Linked DNA regions of Homo sapiens: region 2 is linked to region 1. Evidence: promoter capture Hi-C in human tissues and cell types (Jung and others, 2019). All regions are on one chromosome and are shown on one strand. Each heading gives the region's core, a stretch centred on a gene start or on the middle of the fragment in contact. The rest is flanking DNA. Distances are from core to core; before and after follow the strand shown.

The links. The method cuts DNA at HindIII sites, captures the fragments that hold promoters and counts their contacts. A contact is called where the count stands out against the background at its distance.
Region 2: a fragment that was not itself captured here is called in contact with the fragment with the promoter of CT62 in region 1 in 1 of the 25 tissues and cell types used here (mesenchymal stem cells).

Annotation. Positions count from the first base shown.
Region 1 is chr15:71,113,320-71,117,602 of GRCh38, reverse strand. CT62 (cancer/testis associated 62) reads left to right here and starts at 2,099. Exons shown (of 4, transcript NR_168260.1): 1 at 2,099-2,679; 2 at 3,840-3,972. It overlaps THSD4 (thrombospondin type 1 domain containing 4), which reads right to left and starts at 2,132. Exons shown (of 18, transcript NM_024817.3): 1 at 1,905-2,132. RefSeq lists silencers at 1,739-1,828, 1,979-2,118, 2,149-2,208, 2,055-2,232, 2,269-2,318. The HindIII fragment of the contact is 8,632 bases long and covers 1-4,283 here.
Region 2 is chr15:72,146,928-72,151,373 of GRCh38, reverse strand. No RefSeq gene overlaps it. Among named protein-coding and RNA genes, the nearest start is that of SENP8, 31 kb to the right of the region's middle. The HindIII fragment of the contact is 6,726 bases long and covers 1-4,446 here.

The DNA of each region.
Region 1 (4,283 bases), core at 850-3,349:
GGGGCAGTGGGAATGGAGACAGGTAAATAATTCCTCAGATATCACAAAAGAATGTGGAAGAGATTTTGCGATGAATGAGCTATAAATGTGGGGGACAGAATGGGAGTGTTGGGAACATTTAAACATTGAGACTCCCAGCAATTAGGATAAAAGTGGTACCATGGAGAGAAATGTGGGGGATGGAGAAGACGGCAATACACAGCCTCTGTGTAGGATAACTGATTGCAATCTCCACAAGTTTTTCGAGGCAAAAACAAAAACAAACTCCAAGTCAAAAATCTCCCCACCCCTGATCTTCCTCCCAAACTCTGGGCTGTATTTTTCTTTCGCTAACAGCCAGTAAGAAATATTTCTTTATGGCATAGGAGACTAAAAAGAAGGTAATGCCAAGCTGGTGCCCCGCCCAGTGCTGGGCACAGAGGAGATCACATGAGTTCCACTGGCCAGCCTCCCCACAAGAAACCAACCCAGTTGCTTATTCAGAAGGGGCTCCAGTATCCTGATCACCCAAACTCATTTCCCAGGCCCAGACCTCTGGGAAATCCCTGCTCCAGCCCTGCAGAGATTTATAGGAAAGTCCCAGGACGCCCATCTGCTTGCTTCCTCACATTAATTTCAGGGCTAGGATTTTGTTTTCTAAAGGAATTCAACTATGATGCCAACAAAAATCTATAGGAATTGAAGAGTTCCGTATTTTAAGTCACATTTTTAAAATGTTTGCTTCTTTGTATATTGAGACCCAGTAAGACCCTAGTAAGCCCAGTTACTCCATCACCTCCAACAATATTAATCAAGTAGAAGACACGCGGATTTTAAAAGCTGTGTGATCCTTGAAAAATCTTCAGACTGTCAGGGGTCCTGGGTGCCTCCAACTGTGAAAGGAGGGTTGGACAAGGCGATTCCTTAGATCTCTCTCGGGTATCTATTTCTCTAATTCCAAATTCCAACAGGCATCCAATGATTGCTACCCACGTCCAAGCTTTAGACTCATAGCCCGAAAAGGGCGAAGCGCAGCGTGGTAGAGATCGCAAAGGAGACAGGAAGAGAAGCAAGCATGCACTTTTAGTAAGACGGCAAAGGAGGCTGGGAGGTACGGTGCTGGGTGCGGACTGCTTAAAAAACTTACTAGACCACAAATTCCAGATACTTAGGTGGGCCCGAGAACGCCCTAAAATCCCCTTCCCAAGTGAGGGCTGATGTTATTTCAAATAAAAAGAAAACTTAACTTCCAGATCTGTAGAGCTCCAAGGTGAGCTCGCTGTGCAAAAGCTACTTCTGTAAGTGCGCCAAGGGGCCGCAGGTACTTAGGCTGCACTTGAGGAAGTGTCCAGAGTTGGCGGAAACAACCCATCCACTCGGGCTCCAGGCGCTCGCTGGGTTGCAGCAACTAAACTGAGACAGACAGACACACAGATCCGAGGCCCCAGGCCAGGACTCAAGGAGCGCTGACCGAGACTTGCCCGGCTCTCGGGCCCCAGGCGGGAGGGAGGCGAGGCTGAGGTGGGGGGCGCACGGGCTGGGTGTGCACTCGCCGGTCCCCTCCGACCCGACCCGGGGAGCACGGGGCCCCGACCCGGGGACGACTGAGGTGGATTGTCCCTAGAGTTTAAGACTGTCCCTAGAGTCGAGGGTGGAGGGATGAGCGCCGGCGCCAGCACAGAGCAAGACTCCCAGCAAGGAAGAGAACCAGAGAAGGAGGCGCAGCCGTCCGCACGGACCAGGCGCGCGCTGGCTCCCCGAGCCCGGAGCGGCGCAGCCCGCGGCGCCCCGGACACACCCACTGGGTAGCCCGCGCCAGCCCGCCCCGCCGGCCAGAGAGCGGGAGCCGGAGCCTGGGCAGCGGAAGCCGGGTCGGGGCCGCGCGGGCGGCGCGCAGGGGACGCGGGGCGCGCGGCTCTGCTCACCTGGCGGTCCGCGTCCCGGAGCGACCGGCGGCCGCCTCGCCTCGCCTCGCCCCCGCGTGGTTCCCGGCGCCGGGCAGCCCCGAGCGCCGCCGCATGGACGGCCGCCACCGCCGCCCAGCCGCCCCGCGCCCGCCCTGCACGGGCTCCCGCTGTGCCCCGATTCCGCGTCGGGCTGCGCGGGCGGCCAGCGGTTCAGGCGCGCGCGGAGAGCTCTGGCTCAGAGTTTGCGATCCGAGAGCGGGATCCGCGCTCCCTCGGTCCTTCCTCCCTCCCCTCTTGCGGCCTCCCGCTGTCATCTGGAGCCGCTCCTGCCGCCCCCTGGCGGCGACCGCGGGAAGGGCCGGCCCCCATCCGCACCCCTGACCCCGGAGGTCAACAACGGGATGGTCCCTGGGTCCCAGGGGAAGAGACATCACCCAGTAGGAGGGAGTACGGTCTAGACAGAGGCCACGAGGGCGGGAGGGGGCGAGAGTGGAGAGTGGCCCAGCTGGCCAGGGTCGTCTAAGTGAGAGGAAAAGGGAGAGGGCGGTTGAGACCAGGCCCTGAATTCCGCGTTCATCTTATCCTGAGGTCTGTGGGGACCTGTTGAAGGACTGGGGCAGGGGACGGACGCGGGCATCCTTCCATTTGGAACAGCCATTCCGGCAGCATCAGGATGGGGCGGAGGCAAAGCGGGGAGTGGGCGAGGCAAGTGGTGCTGTAAACCTGTGCGAGAAGGGGGCGGTGACTCTAAGGGCAGGAAGGAGCCCTGGTCACACACACACTCCCACGCAAGGTAGGACGCGCTGGGCTCCTTCTGAGGCCAAGGGGAAAGGACAAGAGCCCTCCAAATTCCAACGGGGGTTAGACAGCATGGGGAGGAGACACACACACCCTGACGGCCAGAGCCGTTCGGGATTCTTTCTTGTCTTATTCAGAGTAATATTTTGTTGGGGAAAAAAAAGCCTGCTGCAAAAAAATAATAATTCTTCTCATTAGTAATGATAAAAATCAAACTTTGATCCCTTCATTTTACGAATTGGGAAATTATTGCCCCCAAAAGGGCATGACCAAAGTGACGCGTTTAGTTAATGGAGGGAAAATTGCTAGGGCCCCGTTTCTTGAGTCCTAATTCAGAGCCAAATTCTTTACATTCGAGCCAAGGTGTTCAGAGCTGGGAAGGCAGGAAATAGAGTGACTGTGAGGAACTGTCTCTTCTTTCCCCAGAGCAGGGAGGGGGTGACAAATATTTGAAGAGGCTGTCCAGATACAGGCGTTTCCCTAAATTTCAGTCAGCCTGTTTGTTTATCGCTGCCTCTAAAGCTTGCCTGCAGGGGTTGTTTTGAAAGTGCAGGTATACCGAGAGGACAATGAAGGAGGTGGCAGAATGCAAGCTCCCTGCCCCAGAGCCAGGCAGCACCAGGGCTGGGTGCAGAGCGCTTCGTGGGAGCAGAAGGGAGCTCCCAGGGAAGATTGTCCTCCAGAAAAAAAAAAAAATTAACAAAAGGGAAAGAGGCTACTCAAGAGATTAGGCCAAAGAAAGAAACACCATTTTGAGCACCGACTACTGGCCCGGAGCCTGGCAGAGCCAGTTCTGATTGATTCAAGAGCTGGTTCCAATGGGATGAAATAATTCCACACTTGATCAAACAGATTTTGATGGGAGGCACCTGGTGTAAATGGGATTAGATTAATTCTGAGTGTCACGAGTCTCATGGGTCCAAATTAAGTCGATCTAACAGCTCTAGTAAATACTGGCCAGTTTAAACCATTTAGAACTGATTTAAAAAAAAAAACCTGCGCAACTTTAGAATGTACTTAATGTCACTGAATTATACACTTAAAAATGGTTAAAATGGAAATTTTTATGTTATGTACATTTTACCATAATTTTAAAAAAGCAAAACTAATAAGATTTGTTCAAACAAGATTGATTTATTCATTCATTCGAGACAGGTATTCAGTGCCGAGTGTGGCCTTGGTGCTAGGATTCAAAGAGGAAAGGAAGAAAACTTTCCATTCTAAAAGAAACTCCACGTGAGGCGAAGAAGATGAAATATAGTCAGAAAACCATACCAGTAGGTGGTAGGTAAATGCAGAAGTATTTAAGAGCTCATACAGGAGTACCTGCCTCAGGACAGGGAATCTGAGATGCTCTGCAGAGCTGGATCTTAAAGAACGGAGTGAGTTCATCACATAATGTCTGGGGCGAACAGGGCTCAGGAGCAAAGGATGTGGTTTTGTTTGTTATTTTTTAATTTTGAAATAATTTTAGACAAGTTTCACAAATAGTACAAAGAATCCCCTTATATCCCCCACCCTCTTCCTCTAATGTTAACATCCGACATAACCAAAGTATGATTATTAGTGAGCAAACTTGATTCGACAGACCTAGGCTGG
Region 2 (4,446 bases), core at 1,107-3,606, 1.0 Mb before region 1:
GTGTAGCTGGAAGAGAGAGAAGAAGAAGGGGCAGAACTAGATGAAGTCAAAGGGGGAGGGCTGGGAAATCATCTAAGACCATTATAAGAACTTTGGCTTTGACTCCCAATGAAATGAGTAGATAAGTGAATAATAATCTTTTGTTATTCAGATTTCAAAAGAATCAAACTTGACTGCTAGGGAGGGAAAGGTGGAAGCAGGGAGATCAGTTAGGAGACAGCCTCCCTTACAAGTTAGGGAGGACAATGACTCTGATGACTAGGGCAGTAGTAGAGATGGTGGAAACATGCAGATTCTGGATATATTCTGAACGTACAAACGACAGGACTGCCTGTTAAATTGGATATGGGGTATAACAGAAAAGGAGTCATAAGGATGACTTCATGTTTTTTGGCTTGAAAGAATGGAGGTGGAGAAAGCCATGAGTGGTAAAGCTTTTGGAAGGAGAATCAGAAATGTAGTACTGGACATATTCAGTCTGAGATGAATTTTGGACATCCAAGTGGTGGGGATGTCAAGTGGGCAATAGGGTATATGAGTCTGGGGTTCAGGAGAGATGTCTGAAGTCTGGGAGATATAAATTTGGGAGCTGTTGGCTGGACATGGTGGCTCATGCCTGTAATCCCAGCACTTTGGGAGGCCGAGGCGGGCAGATCATGAGGTCAGGAGATCGAGACCATCCTGGCTAACATGGTGAAAACCCATCTCTACTAAAAATACAAAAAATTAGCTGGGCATGGTGGCACATGCCTGCAGTCCCAGCTACTTGGGAGGCTGAGGCAGGAGAATCGCTTGAACCCGAGAGGTGGAGGTTGCAGTGAGCCTAGACTGCACCATTGCACTCTAGCCTGGGCAACAGAGCAAGACTCCATTTCAAAAAAAACAAAACAAAACTGGGAGCTGTTGGCTGGGCATGGTGGCGCACACCTGTAATCCCAGCACTTTGGGAGGCCGAGGCAGGCAGATCATGAGGTCAAGAGATCAAGGCCATCCTGGCCAACATGGTGAAACCCCGTGTCTACTAAAAATACAAAAATTAGCTGGGCGTGGTGGCATGCGACTGTAGTCTCAGCTACTTGGGAGGCTGAGGCAGGAGAATCACTCGAACCCATGAGGCAGTGGTTGCAGTGAGCTGAGATCATGCCACTGCACTCCAGCCTGGTGACAGAGTAAGACTCCGTCTCAAAAATAAATAAATAAATAAATAAAATAAAAATAAATAAATAAAATAAAATAAAAAAATAAATCTGGGAGCTGTCAACATATGGATGGTATTTAAAAGCATGCTGCTGGATGAGATCATCAAGGGACTGAGTCTGTAGACAGAAGAAAGAGTGGACGAGTGAACCCTGTCACACACTGTTAATAAAAGATCAGGAAGAAAAGGAAGAACTAGGAAAAGGAAACTAAGGATGCCTGATGAGGAAGGAGGAAAACCAGAAGAGTCTGGTGTCCTGGAAGCTAATTATTTCTTTATTTTATTTATTTATTTTTTTGAGATGGAGTCTCACTCTGTTGCCCAGGCTGGAGTGCAGTGGTGCGATCTTGGCTCACTGCAAGCTCCGCCTCCCAGGTTCATGCCATTCTCCTGCCTCAGCCTCCCCAGAAGCTGGGACTACAGGAGCCCACCACCACGCCCGGCTAATTTTTTTTTGTATTTTTAGTAGAGACAGGGTTTCACCGTGTTAGCCAGGATGGTCTCAATCTCCTGACCTCGTGATCTGCCCGCCTCGGCCTCTCAAAGTGCTGGGATTACAGGCGTAAGCCACGGCGCCCAGCCGAAGCTAATTATTTCATGATACATCAAGGCAAAGGCTATGACAAATGCTGCTAATACATCAAATTTATTTTACTGTGGTTCAAGCTCTTTCTCACTTCAGTGTAACCCAGAAATTTCCAAACTTGGACAACCCCAAATAATTTAGTGTTTAGGGGTCATTCTTTCAATTTGAAATGGCCTGAGACCCATTTCTAACCACTGTGGGAAGTCCTGAGACCTCAGTTTCTCCAAGGGTTTTTAAGGTTGCTTCTGTGTCTCCTGCAGATGGGATGCAGCCTGCTTGTCCCGTCCCCTGTTCCTTTGGCTATTTCCTTTTTGCCTCATCATGTGCCACTCCTCATCCTTCATTCCTCCAAATGATCCACCACCAAAATGGTTGAGTATATCCAAATTGCATGAAAGGTTTAGTTAATGGAAGGCTATATCACAAAGCAGAAAACTTCAAACTCAATACATAGATGATTGCTTAAAGAAATTTAGCAGCCATTCTCTACTACAGTAGGGAGCTTCTCCATGGCCATGTCTTCCAGTAGGCCCCTGTCTCCTGCCATGTTTCTGGAATGCTTCTCATCTCAGTTCTCTTCGTTAACCTTTCCCTACTTCTTTCTTTCCTAGGCCTCATTCTCTTTCTCTAGGGCATCCAGTGAAAATCCAAATTTATTTGATTTTATTATTTGGAGTAACTGATCTCTCTTGTATTGTCCTGGCCTACACGTGTTAAACCCTGGGAGTTGACCTTTCTTAACCAAAAAGCTCCATCTGGATGTTTACCTCAATGAAACAAGCTCACTAGCAATAAATTATACCACATTCTTGGAAATCAGAAAGGTTACAGATTTTATTAATAATTTTTCCTGTCTGTTAAATATAACAGAAAAAACACTGTCACTGACAACCAGGAGAGAGAGTACAGCATAGTAGTTAAGAATACAGGTTCTGGAATCAGTACATCTACATTTAAACTCTTCCAATTTACTTGGACAACTCTAAGCCTTAGTTTCCTCATCTCTAAAAGGGGGATACTAATAGTACTTACAGGTTTATGGTAATTTGTTAAATGGGAAACGTCATGTCAAATCCTTGAAGTTTCTGACACACAGAAATAGCTCAACAGATATTAGTTTTCTGTTAAGTTCCAAGAAATAAATGTAGCAAATGCAAAACCTAATGTTGGCCAGGTGTGGTGGCTCATACCTATAATCCCAGCACTCTGGGAAGCAGGAGGATCACTTGAGCCAGGAGCTCAAGACCAGCCTGGGCAACACAGCAAGACCCTGTCTCAAAAAAAAAAAGTTAGCCGGGTGTGGTGGTGTGTCCCTGTAGTCCATGCTACTTGGGAGGCTGAGGCAGGAGAGGACTGCTTGAGCCCAGGAGTTCGAGGCTGCAGTGAGCTATGATTTTACCACTGTACTCCAGCCTGGGTGACACAGCAAGACCCTATCTCTAAAAAAACAAAACAACCCACCCTCAGTGTTGGTAGGGCTATACAGAACTAGAGATAGGTTTGTATCATAGAATTTTAATGGTACTATATATTGATTCTTTCTTTTTAGACAAATCTCTGGCTGTCTACATGATAGGATATAAACTGTTCATATGTTTTGAAATCTTAATCCCACTTTGTATTCAAGGAGAACATGTGAAATAAGTTACTTATGAAGAATGTTTGTAGCACTGCTATTCATAACAATCTCAAATCAGAACTAACCAAAAAGCCCGGCAGTGGGGAATTGGCTAAGAAAATCACAATCTATAAATATAATGTAACCCAATGTTACCTTTAAGCACAAGTAAACAGTGATTAAGGTGGAAATTTGTAAAAAGCAGAATTAAGATAGTGCTTAGACATGGATTACAACGATGTAAAATGTGAAAATCTCTAAGAAGTCAGCAGATAAACTGAAGAGATGTCCACAGTTAGATGTACAAGTTTAGGGAGTTCCCTATTTTCTGTTAGGTTGCTTAAGTTCATCAACCTCTGAGCTTGGTCTTAAGCAAGCATGAATAGTTCTACTGATTAATGTTGCATTTTGACTTCTGCTGCTATGCCAGGGAGGATGATGGGCTGTTTTTTCTTTGATAAACAGCTTCTATGTTCTCATTTATCCATTCAACAAATAACAATGTTTATGTGCCAGGCACTGTATGAAACTGCATGGATTCAATAGTGAACGAGTCAGACATGGTTCCCGGCCTCCATGGCTCTTGTGATTTAGTGGGAAGGAAGGACACAACACCAAAAATCATATGTGATTTGGGCACACTGAAAGGATTCATGATTCTGAGGAATTAACAAGGAAAGCAAATTAGTCAGATGCACTGGGGATGATTTCTTTGAGGAAGAGATGACATAGAAGATTATCTGTTGAGGACTATGGGAGAGAGTGCAGGAGGGAACAGCAAATGGGGAGACTGGAAAGGGAGAAAAGAAAGTGTGTGTTTGAGGAACTAAAAGAAGGCCTGCAGGGCTGGAACACAGGAAGCTAAGGCAAGAGTGGTATAGATTGCAAAGAGGCAGGGAAAGTGGGAAGGGACCAGGTTATACAGAGCTTTCTTAAAGATATTGGCAGAATATAAAATGGAGTGGGGGTGAAGAGTATAAGTGAACACTGAAGAGTCCTTTATAAGCTAGTCTAGCAACCCAGATGAGAGGGCATGATTGTCTG